Linked DNA regions of Homo sapiens: all the other regions are linked to region 1. The links are contacts of gene promoters, found by promoter capture Hi-C in human tissues and cell types (Jung and others, 2019). All regions are on one chromosome and are shown on one strand. The core of a region is centred on a gene start or on the middle of the fragment in contact, and the rest is flanking DNA. Distances in the headings are between cores, read along the strand shown.

The links. The method cuts DNA at HindIII sites, captures the fragments that hold promoters and counts their contacts. A contact is called where the count stands out against the background at its distance.
Region 2: a fragment that was not itself captured here is called in contact with the fragment with the promoter of PRPF3 in region 1 in 1 of the 25 tissues and cell types used here (aorta).
Region 3: the fragment with the promoter of ANXA9 here is called in contact with the fragment with the promoter of PRPF3 in region 1 in 2 of the 25 tissues and cell types used here (liver and lymphoblastoid cells).

Annotation. Positions count from the first base shown.
Region 1 is chr1:150,320,067-150,323,314 of GRCh38, forward strand. PRPF3 (pre-mRNA processing factor 3) reads left to right here and starts at 1,467. Exons shown (of 16, transcript NM_004698.4): 1 at 1,467-1,526. RefSeq lists enhancers at 581-1,146, 1,276-1,325, 1,516-1,565. The HindIII fragment of the contact is 24,557 bases long and covers 1-3,248 here.
Region 2 is chr1:150,940,285-150,943,401 of GRCh38, forward strand. It overlaps SETDB1 (SET domain bifurcated histone lysine methyltransferase 1), which reads left to right. Exons shown (of 22, transcript NM_001366418.1): 5 at 1,045-1,144; 6 at 2,279-2,404; 7 at 2,568-2,769. Among named protein-coding and RNA genes, the nearest start is that of SETDB1, 15 kb to the left of the region's middle. RefSeq lists an enhancer at 310-454 and a cis regulatory region at 382. The HindIII fragment of the contact is 7,414 bases long and covers 1-3,117 here.
Region 3 is chr1:150,980,812-150,983,999 of GRCh38, forward strand. ANXA9 (annexin A9) reads left to right here and starts at 1,481. Exons shown (of 14, transcript NM_003568.3): 1 at 1,481-1,568; 2 at 1,676-1,772; 3 at 2,279-2,369; 4 at 2,527-2,623; 5 at 3,164-3,188. The coding sequence starts at 2,295. It overlaps LOC105371438 (a long non-coding RNA gene), which reads right to left and starts at 694. Exons shown (of 3, transcript XR_922135.3): 1 at 610-694; 2 at 393-502. RefSeq lists an enhancer at 2,005-2,866. The HindIII fragment of the contact is 19,915 bases long and covers 1-3,188 here.

The DNA.
Region 1 (3,248 bases), core at 217-2,716:
CAACTTGTTCCTTCAGAGCCAGGCTTTATCCTGTTATGTCGTGCTGCCCCATCAGGGAAGGTGGGGCTTGGTATGTACATTGTTATCTTTAGATACAAAAATCTCCTACTATCTGGGGAATGTGAATAACCTCCCTGAAGAACAACTGCATCTTCTAGTCAGCCTACCACCAAGAAGACATTTTGGAACTTTAGTTTGGATAGTTTATAATATAAAAATAATGGAATTTTTTCCATTTCTCATATAAGAAATTGTGTCATAATACTGGACAATCTTTTTCCAAACTATCTTTGTCCACACACATGTTGTTATGAATCATCGATTTAAAGAGTCAGTAGGGGCCGGGCGCGGTGGTTCAACCCTGTAATCCCAGCACTTTGGGAGGCCGAGGTGGGCGGATCACGCGGTCAAGAGATGGAGACCATCCTGGCCAACATGGTGAAACCCCGTCTCTACTAAAAATACAAAAGTTAGCTGGACGTGGTGGTCGCGCGCCTGTAGTCCCATCTACTCGGGAGGCGGAAGTTTCAGTGAGCCGAATGCACTCCAGCCTGACGACAGAGCGAGACTCCGTCTCAAAAAATAAAAAATAAAAATAAAAAATAAAGGGTCAGTAGGTTAGAGCCTCATTTTGGAGAGAAGTTAATATATAGACCTATTGATAGAATGGAGAAAACAATACTGGTAGGTCTCACTTGTCATTTATTGAGCCCAAAGTGCTGGGATTACAGGCGTGAGCCACGGCGCCCGGCCTGACACCACTGTTAAATTAGGGAGAAAGGGTTTACTTTCTACCAGAAAGGCTGTGTTTGAACACAAACGCAGAAGCCTCGCTCTTCATTCTAGCCTAAGTTTACTTTTGCGCACTTATTCTCCATATGAGGAAAACAGCAAGTAGCCCAATTTCCGCTTCAGGAAGTTAAAGACATTAACTTGGCAGAAATCGGCCGGGCGCGGTGGCTCACGCCTGTAATCCCAGCACTTTGGAAGGCTGAGGCGGGCGGATCACGAGGCCAGGAGATCGAGACCATCCTGGCTAACACGGTGAAACCCCGGCTCTACTAAAAATACAAAAAATCAGCCGGGCGTGGTGGCGGGCGCCTGTAGTCCCAGCTACTCGGGAGGCTGAGGCAGGAGAATGGCGTGAACCCGGGAGGCGGAGCTCGCAGTGAGCCGAGATCGCGTCACTGCACTCCAACCTGGGCGACAGAGCGAGACTCCGTCTCAAAAAAAAAGCTAAAAAAAAAACCTTGGCAGAAATCTAGCTAATAGGTTTAGCCTGGGAAATAGAAAGCAAGGAAATTGCTCAGGGAAACTTTTCGGTTCTGCGACGCATGCGTTCAGCCTCCAAGAAAGTGGCAAATACGGCTGCGCGAATTGGCGGCCCGGCCCTCCTTGGTCACGTGTTGGGAGACAGCGGCGTGGCGGCGGCGGTGGCGGTAGCGACGGCACGCCGTAGGGCGGTCAGAAGGTTTCCGGTTCCGGTGTAACGTTCGGGCTCCGTCTCAGGGGCTGAAGTTTGTGAGGTGAGTAGTGGCCCCGGGCCCACAGAGGGTAATTCCAGTCCGCGCCACTGTGGCCGGGGACTCAGTCCAAGGGGAGGACCGAAGCGGGAGGGTTCAGCGGGAAGGAGTGTGAAAGGAGTACCTGGTTTGGTGGGAGAAGAGGTTGGAATGAGATTGTTGAGAGGAAAAGGGCGGGGGCGGGAAGGAGACCGGGTTGGGAGACCAGCTCTGGGGTGAGGAGTTTAGGTAGAACAAGGTAGAGTAAGAGACTGGTTGGAGTGACGGAGAGAGTAAAAATGAAGATTAGCGGGGGAGTGGGGGGCTGCAGAGGGAAACTCAGGTTGTAGCAAACAAGAGCACGGAGTAAGGAATTCCTTCTGAAGACTGGATTTGGATTCTGCTGCCTGCTCATTGAGAGGAGAGATCATTGTACCTCGCTTTCCTTCCGCACCCCCACTACCCCCGCACCTCGCAGTTATTGTTGAGCATTTGATTAGTGACAAGGCTAATTACCGTTTGAAACTTTTTTATCCATTGGCTGTTTAGTTTGCACGTCATCTTATGGAGGTAACAGTGGCACCTCATTTATTGCTTTGGGCTTTCAAATTGCTTATACTTTCTAGCCTATCATTCAATTCTAGTGGAATATAAGACCCGTTAAGGTGAGGACTCTTGTTAGTTTTGCTCACTGTTTTATGTATCCACCGCACCTAGTACATTGCTTGACACTTAGTAGTTACTCAATAAATATTTATTGAATGAATTAGGATGTAAATATGGCAGTACTCATTTTGTAAGATGGTAAACTGTGGCTCCAAAGAATTACTTAACTTGCCCAAGGGCTTGTAAATGGTGGGGCTCAGTGTCCCAACTGTTTCTGTGTGAACTCTTGTTTTCACTTTCTATGGCATCTGGATATGCCGCTTTTGTGCAATACATGTGTAATATGTAGAAATTGGTACGCTGTATGTCTACTCATTGTGGGGTAATAGAACCACCATAGAATTACTCACGTAACTTGTCACTGAGGCAGAAAATCTTTCAGTCTTAGTTTCATCACTTCAATCTACTAGCTTCCTTTGGATATACCAAAAGTGAGTCTATTTGGCATCAAGTCTTATAGACTCTAGTATAGAGGCTAAACTTACCAAGAATGTAGAAGTTAATCAGACTGGATTTTTTGGAGAAAAGATGTCTTAAAACATCTTGAAAGATGATTCCCAGATCTTTGATAAGTGGCACTGCTGGGAATAGCTGAGCTTGGAAATTGAGGTCAGTCAATTTATTGACTCCCATTTAGACACCTTTTTTTTTTTTCCCCGGGACGGAGTCTTGCTCTGTCGCCCAGGCTGGAGTGCAGTGGTGCGATCTCGGCTCACTGCAACCTCCGCCTTCCATGTTCAAGGGATTCTCCTGTCTCAGCCTCCAGAGTAGCTGGGATTACAGGTGCAGGTCACCACGCCCAGCTAATATTTGTATTTTTAATAGGGATGCGGTTTCACCATGTTGGCCAGGCTGGTCTCGAACTCCTGACGTCAGATAATCCACCCGCCTTGGCCTCCCAAAGTGTTGGGATTACAGGCGTGAGCCACCGCACCTGGCTTTTTTTTTTTTTTTTTTTTTTTTGGAGACACAGTTTCACTCTGTCGCTCAGGCTGGAGTGCACATGATTTTGGCTCACCGCAACCTCCGCCTCCTGGGTTCAAGTGATTTTCCTGCCTCTGCCTCATAAGTAGCTGGGAT
Region 2 (3,117 bases), core at 49-2,548, 620 kb after region 1:
GCTGGGCACATTGGCTCACGACTGTAATCCCAGCACTTGGGGAGTTTCAGGTGGGTGGATCACCTGAGGTCAGGAGTTCAAGACCAGCCTGGCCAAAATGGCGAAACCCCATCTCTACTAAAAAAATATAAAAATTAGCTGGGCATGGTGGTGCATGCCTGTAATCCCAGCTGCTTGGGAGGCTGAGACAGGAGAATCAGTGGAACCCAGGAGGCAGAGGTTGCAATGAGCTGAGATCGCACCACCGCACTCTAGCCTGGGGGACAGAGCAAGACTCTGTCTCAGAAAAAAAAAAAAAAGAGGCTAGGCGTGGTGGCTTACGCCTGTAATCCCAGCACTTTGGGAGGCTGAGGCAGGTGGATCACCTTAGGTCGGCAGTTCAAGAGCAGCCTAACCATGGAGAAACCCCATCTCTACTAAAAACACAAAATCAGGCTGGGCACAGTGGCTCACGCCTGTAATCCCAGGACTTTGGGAGGCTGAGGCGGGTGGAACACGAGGTCAGGAGTTTGAGACCAGCCTGGCTAACATAGTGAAACCCTGTCTCTACTAAAAATACAAAAATTAGCTGGGCATGGTGGCACGTGCCTGTAGTCCCAGCTGCTTTGGAGGTTGAGACAGGTGAATCGCTTGAACCCGAGAGGCAGAGGTTGCGGTGAACCTAAATCATGCCATTGCACTCCAGGCTGGGCAACAGAGCCAGACTCCATCTCAAAAAAAAAAAAAAAATTAGCTGGGCATGGTGGCGCATGCTTGTAATTCCAGCTACTCCGGAGGCTGAGGCAGGAGAATCGCTTGAACCCAGGAAGTGGAGGTTATGGTGAGCCGAGATTGTGCCATTGCACTCCAGCCTGGGCAACAATAGCTAAACTCCATATCAAAAAAAAAGAGTAAGGGCAGCTTTGCCAGATAAAGTAACCATAAGCTTCCAAACATAACTCACTCCATTTTGTTTTGTGAAATACAAGTTGTTTCTTATTCTGAAGTTATTTGTAACCCATGCTACTGTTTCAAAACTTGTTTTCCTCATCCCCTTTTCTACAGCTCCGTGAAGCTATGGCTGCCTTAAGAAAGTCAGCTCAAGATGTTCAGAAGTTCATGGATGCTGTCAACAAGAAGAGCAGTTCCCAGGATCTGCATAAAGGTTAGGGTCAAGAAATACCTGGGTACAGATGGGAGGTGAATTCTTACAGAGATTTTGTCTTAAGTCTTATGTCTGCTAATTGTTTGTGACATGCCAGACTCAGTATCCTTAGTAGTTATGAAATCCCAGTTACATTGATGGTGATTTTTCCAGTCTGTGATGGTTTTATCTCAATACCTCTTTAGCGTCCTACATTTAGGCTGTTTCCATCCTCATGACTGCTTCCAGGTGGAGATTAGGGAGAAGAGAATCACTCAGACTCTTGTTACAAAAAGGTTTGAGGCCAGGTGTGGTGGCTCATATCTGTAATTCTAGCAGCTTTGGGAGGCTGAGGCAGGAGGATCACTTGAGGCCCAGCATTAAAGACCAGCCTCGGCAACATAGTGAAACCCCATCTCTACAAAAAAAAATGTTTAAAAATTCTCCAGATGGGCCAGGCACGGTGGCTCACGCCTGTAATCCCAGCACTTTGGGAGGCCGAGGTGGGCGGATCACAAGGTCAGGAGTTCGACACCAGCCTGACCAACATGGTGAAACTCTGTCTCTATTAAAAATACAAAAATTAGCCAGGCGTGGTGGCGCACGCCTGTAATCTCAGCTACTCAGGAGCCCGAGGCAGGAGAATCGCTTGAACCCGGAAGGTGAAGGTTGCAGTGAGCCGAGATCATGCCACTGCACTCCAGCCTGGGCAACAGAACGAGACTCCATCTCAAAAAAAAAAAAAAAAATTGGCCGGGCACAGTGGCTCATGCCTATAATCCCAGCACTTTGGGAGACCGAGGCAGGCGGATCATGAGGTCAAAAGATAGAGACCATCCTGGCTAACATGGTGAAACCCCGTCTCTACTAAAAATATAAAAATTAGCTGGGTGTAGTGGTGCCACCTTGCGTGCCTGTAGTCCCAGCTACTCGGGAGGCTGAGGCAGGAGAATCGCTGGAACCCAGGGAGGCGGAGGTTCCAGTGAGCCAAGATCGCACCACTGCACTCCAGCCTGGTGACAGAGTGAGACTCCATCTCAAAAAAAAAAAAAAAATTACCCCACTTTCCCTAATTACCATACTACCCTCTTTACCTTCCCGTTCTCTACCGAATCTATGTCATAACTCTTGAGAATAACTTTGCTTCTTCTATAGGAACCTTGAGTCAGATGTCTGGAGAACTAAGCAAAGATGGTGACCTGATAGTCAGCATGCGAATTCTGGGCAAGAAGAGAACTAAGACTTGGCACAAAGGCACCCTTATTGCCATCCAGACAGTTGGTATGTGCAAACTTGGAGGAACCACTCCTGAAAGGCAACCTGCACCCTCCACTGCTGATTGTTTCTTTTCCCCATAACCTTCCCATTTGTCTCTCACATAGCAGCCTGGATTTATACAGAAACTGGCAGTGTTTAAAAAGATTTATCTTTCCCTTTTACTCAGGGCCAGGGAAGAAATACAAGGTGAAATTTGACAACAAAGGAAAGAGTCTACTGTCGGGGAACCATATTGCCTATGATTACCACCCTCCTGCTGACAAGCTGTATGTGGGCAGTCGGGTGGTCGCCAAATACAAAGATGGGAATCAGGTCTGGCTCTATGCTGGCATTGTAGCTGAGACACCAAACGTCAAAAACAAGCTCAGGTACCTGGACAGAGGACTGTAAAGGGGTAGAGGCTGGGAGCACAGCACCTGCCCTGTTCGTGCCATAGACCAGATACCACAATTAGCTTTTGTCTTCTTAGTCCCCAGTGGACTGAAACCCTTACTCTTTCTTTACCACAGGAGTCATGTGGGTGATTCTTTCTTCCTCTTTCTCCTCCTGTTTTTTTTCCTTTTCTTTCCTCAAAGAGAAAACTAGGAAGAGAATAATGAGGATTGATTAATGGTCAGGGGAATACAATTCACACAGAAGAAAGAAATGGAGACTAAATGGTTATTGGCAGCATAGGAATCTGATAGAGGAAAAAGAATATATGTTTTTTGGCCGGG
Region 3 (3,188 bases), core at 231-2,730, 660 kb after region 1:
CTCATGATCCACCCGCCTCGGCCTCACAAAGTGCTGGGATTACAGGCATGAGCCACCGTGCCTGGCCACATTACCTTATTTATTTATTTATTTATTTATTTATTTTTATGAGTTCAATAGTTTTTGGGGACAAGGTGGTGTTTGGTTACATGGATAAGTTCTTTAGTGGACACATTACTTCATTTAATCATCCCAGGAAACCTGTCCTCGGAGGCCCCAGCATGTCCCACAGCCTCCGTCTCTCTCAATCCTCCCATTTAGAGAGCTGAAAGGACTAGCGAAGCTTACAGAACATAGGTGGCAGAGCTGGATATTGAACCCTCATTCTCCAGTTCTGACACAGGTGCATGTTTTCCTTTTAACAGGAGAGAAAAGTGAGGAGCAGTGATTACCGCCACAGAAATATCCTTTCATGGCGTGTCCTCCGGCATGGTCTACTCAGTGTGGTGGAGCCACTGCAGGTCCCTCCTCCAGGGATGTAGGAATGCCAGTGAAGGCCTTCCTGAGTTGGGAGAGAGGCAGAGGAGTGAGTGGAGGCAGGGCTGTAGCTTCTGTGCCCCGCCCCTACCCAGGCTCTCCAGGGAGGCAGGAAAGAGGCTGTGTTTAGACCTGAGGGAGCCAGCTGTGAGGCTGGAGCAGTTGCTGCATGGCGGGGCGGGGGCTCCACAGGGCTGTTCACCTGCTGCTCTGTGCAGAGACAGCCTCAAGTCCAGCTGCTGGGGTTGCATCACCTGCAGCTAAAACAGCCACAGGGCCCAGGCTGCCAAAAGGCAACAGAAGCAATCTAAGAAACCAGGCAAGGGAGCCTCCCCCATCTCCCTGTTGCCTTTTGGGAGCATAGAGCTTCCCTCTGAAGGTAACACCCTTTGCATTTTTCTCTCTTGACTCTGTTCATCAACTTCCACTCCCAAATACTTGTGCCCTTCCTTCTCCACAGATATACACAATCCCTGGGCACTCTCCACCTAGGTCAGCTGGCTCTAGTAAGGCAGCAGTCAAGGGAGTTTCTGGGCTGGGACCCCCTCTGGGGTGCAGGCTGGGGTGCCCTGCTGGTATGTGCCCCAACAGGTTTTTCCCTATCAGCCTTGAAATCAGCCTGCAGCCTGTCTGACCTGCCCCCCAGGGAGCTGGAGCCAGAGGCAGAGCCAGGTCAGAAGCTGGGGCAGAGCCAGGTCAGAAGCTGGACTTTGAGACTAGGTCTCTGTGGTCCCACCTGGACCCACAGGGAAGGCAGTGCATAAAAGCCTCCTGTGTTTGAGGCTGAGCCGCTGAGAGGCTGAGTGGAGTTCACTCACATGGATTGAGGCCCAGTTCCTGGGAGAAGAGATGCTGGGCAGGAAGGTGTCTGCATGTGGGACTCTGTACAGCCCGGTCCTCTCCCACGTCTGGGAGGGGCCAGAGTCAGACAACTGCTGGGTTCGTCCCTAAGAGAGGTCATCTGACTGGCTGTTCAGCCTAGGCTGCACACACCCCCACTTTCCTCTACCAGGCCACACCGGAGGCAGTGCTCACACAGGCAAGCTACCAGGCCACAACAACGACACCCACCTCACCTCTGGCACCTCTGAGTAAGTACTGGGCCCACGGCCCCATGCCAGGAGGGCTTGTTGATTGCTTGGGGGAGGGAAAAATGAGTTTTCCTTTTCCAACATGAGAGTGCCTCCTTTCTGTCCAGGCATCCACGTACTTGCAAGAACTCTTGCTCACATCAGCTAAGAGATTGCACCTGCTGACCTAGAGATTCCGGCCTGTGCTCCTGTGCTGCTGAGCAGGTAGGCAGCTGTACAGGCAGGAATTGAGGGTTGCTTGTCAGCTGGGGCTGCCGGTGGGGGAAGATGCTATTTCGAGTTGTCTTCCACTCTGCGTGGTTAATCCTGCCACCTCACCTCAGCTCCCCTGCACTGCCCAGGAGACCCCAGCCAGGCCCAGGAAGGAGGGCCATAGACCTCAGAAGGGAGGCATCTACCGCGGACCAAGGCCTGAGGAGCTTTGGTGCTGACCCTGGCATCAGGGAGGGTTGGCGCCTGGTCCAGGAGCATTCCGCATCAATCCCCACTTCCTAAAGGAGTGGGGAGAGGTGGGGAAGGTGGGGGCTCCCCTCTTACCTCACCATTTCAGCTCCATTTCTGGCTCCAAGCCTAAGCAGGTTGATCTTTTTTTCTGCAGCAAGGAAAGGAACAGGTGACTGGAACCCAGGGTCCAGGGTCTCGGGGGGGTCATAAGGAGTCCCTGAAGGGCCAGGAAATTCAGCTCTGTGGGCTCCTGTTTCCTTCCCCAGGGCAACCAGTAGCACCATGTCTGTGACTGGCGGGAAGATGGCACCGTCCCTCACCCAGGAGATCCTCAGCCACCTGGGCCTGGCCAGCAAGGTAGGGGCTGTTGGGATTTTAGAGATCACTTTTAGTATCTCAGCTCGGGCTGTGAGAGGATGGGAGGCAGGAAAGTGGAGGACAGGCCCTGAGGTTATGCTGAGGAGGTGTAGGCAGCCTGGCCCTGGCCCTTGCCAACTACCCTGTGCTCCCACAGACTGCAGCGTGGGGGACCCTGGGCACCCTCAGGACCTTCTTGAACTTCAGCGTGGACAAGGATGCGCAGAGGCTACTGAGGGCCATTACTGGCCAAGGTGAGCCCCTTTCCCCCGGCACTTGAGACTGCCTTTTAGAGCCAATCTGTAGACCAAGGAGGAGCCAGGAAGGAGGAACTAGTGATGTTGGAGAAATGTTTGTGGAATGCCTTCATTCTTGTATGTCAGGCGCCACAGTAGGTGTGTCAAACCCATTCTCACAACACCCCTGTGAGGCAAGGCTTATTATTTCCATTTTCCAGATGAGGAAACTGGGGCTCAGGGAGATTAAGAGGCTTGCCCAAGGTCACTCAGCTCATGACGGAGGTGGTATTCTCATCTAGGTCAGCCGATCCCCCCAAGTCGTATTTTTTTTTAACCACCACACCAGGCCACCTTTGCCTTGGTCTGGGTCAGATTTGCATGCTGTTTTGACATTTTATTTGCAACTTCTTTTGAGATAAAATGGAAGTGGGGGTGATATAGCCCCTGCTCCTTTCCTTCCCAGCCCTCTCCTGGAGCGCCTTCCCTCCTCCAAGGAGTAGGAACATCCCACTATGTAAAGACCCTGCTCACAGCACAGCCCTCATCTCGGTTCAGGCGTGGACCGCAGTGCCATTGTGGA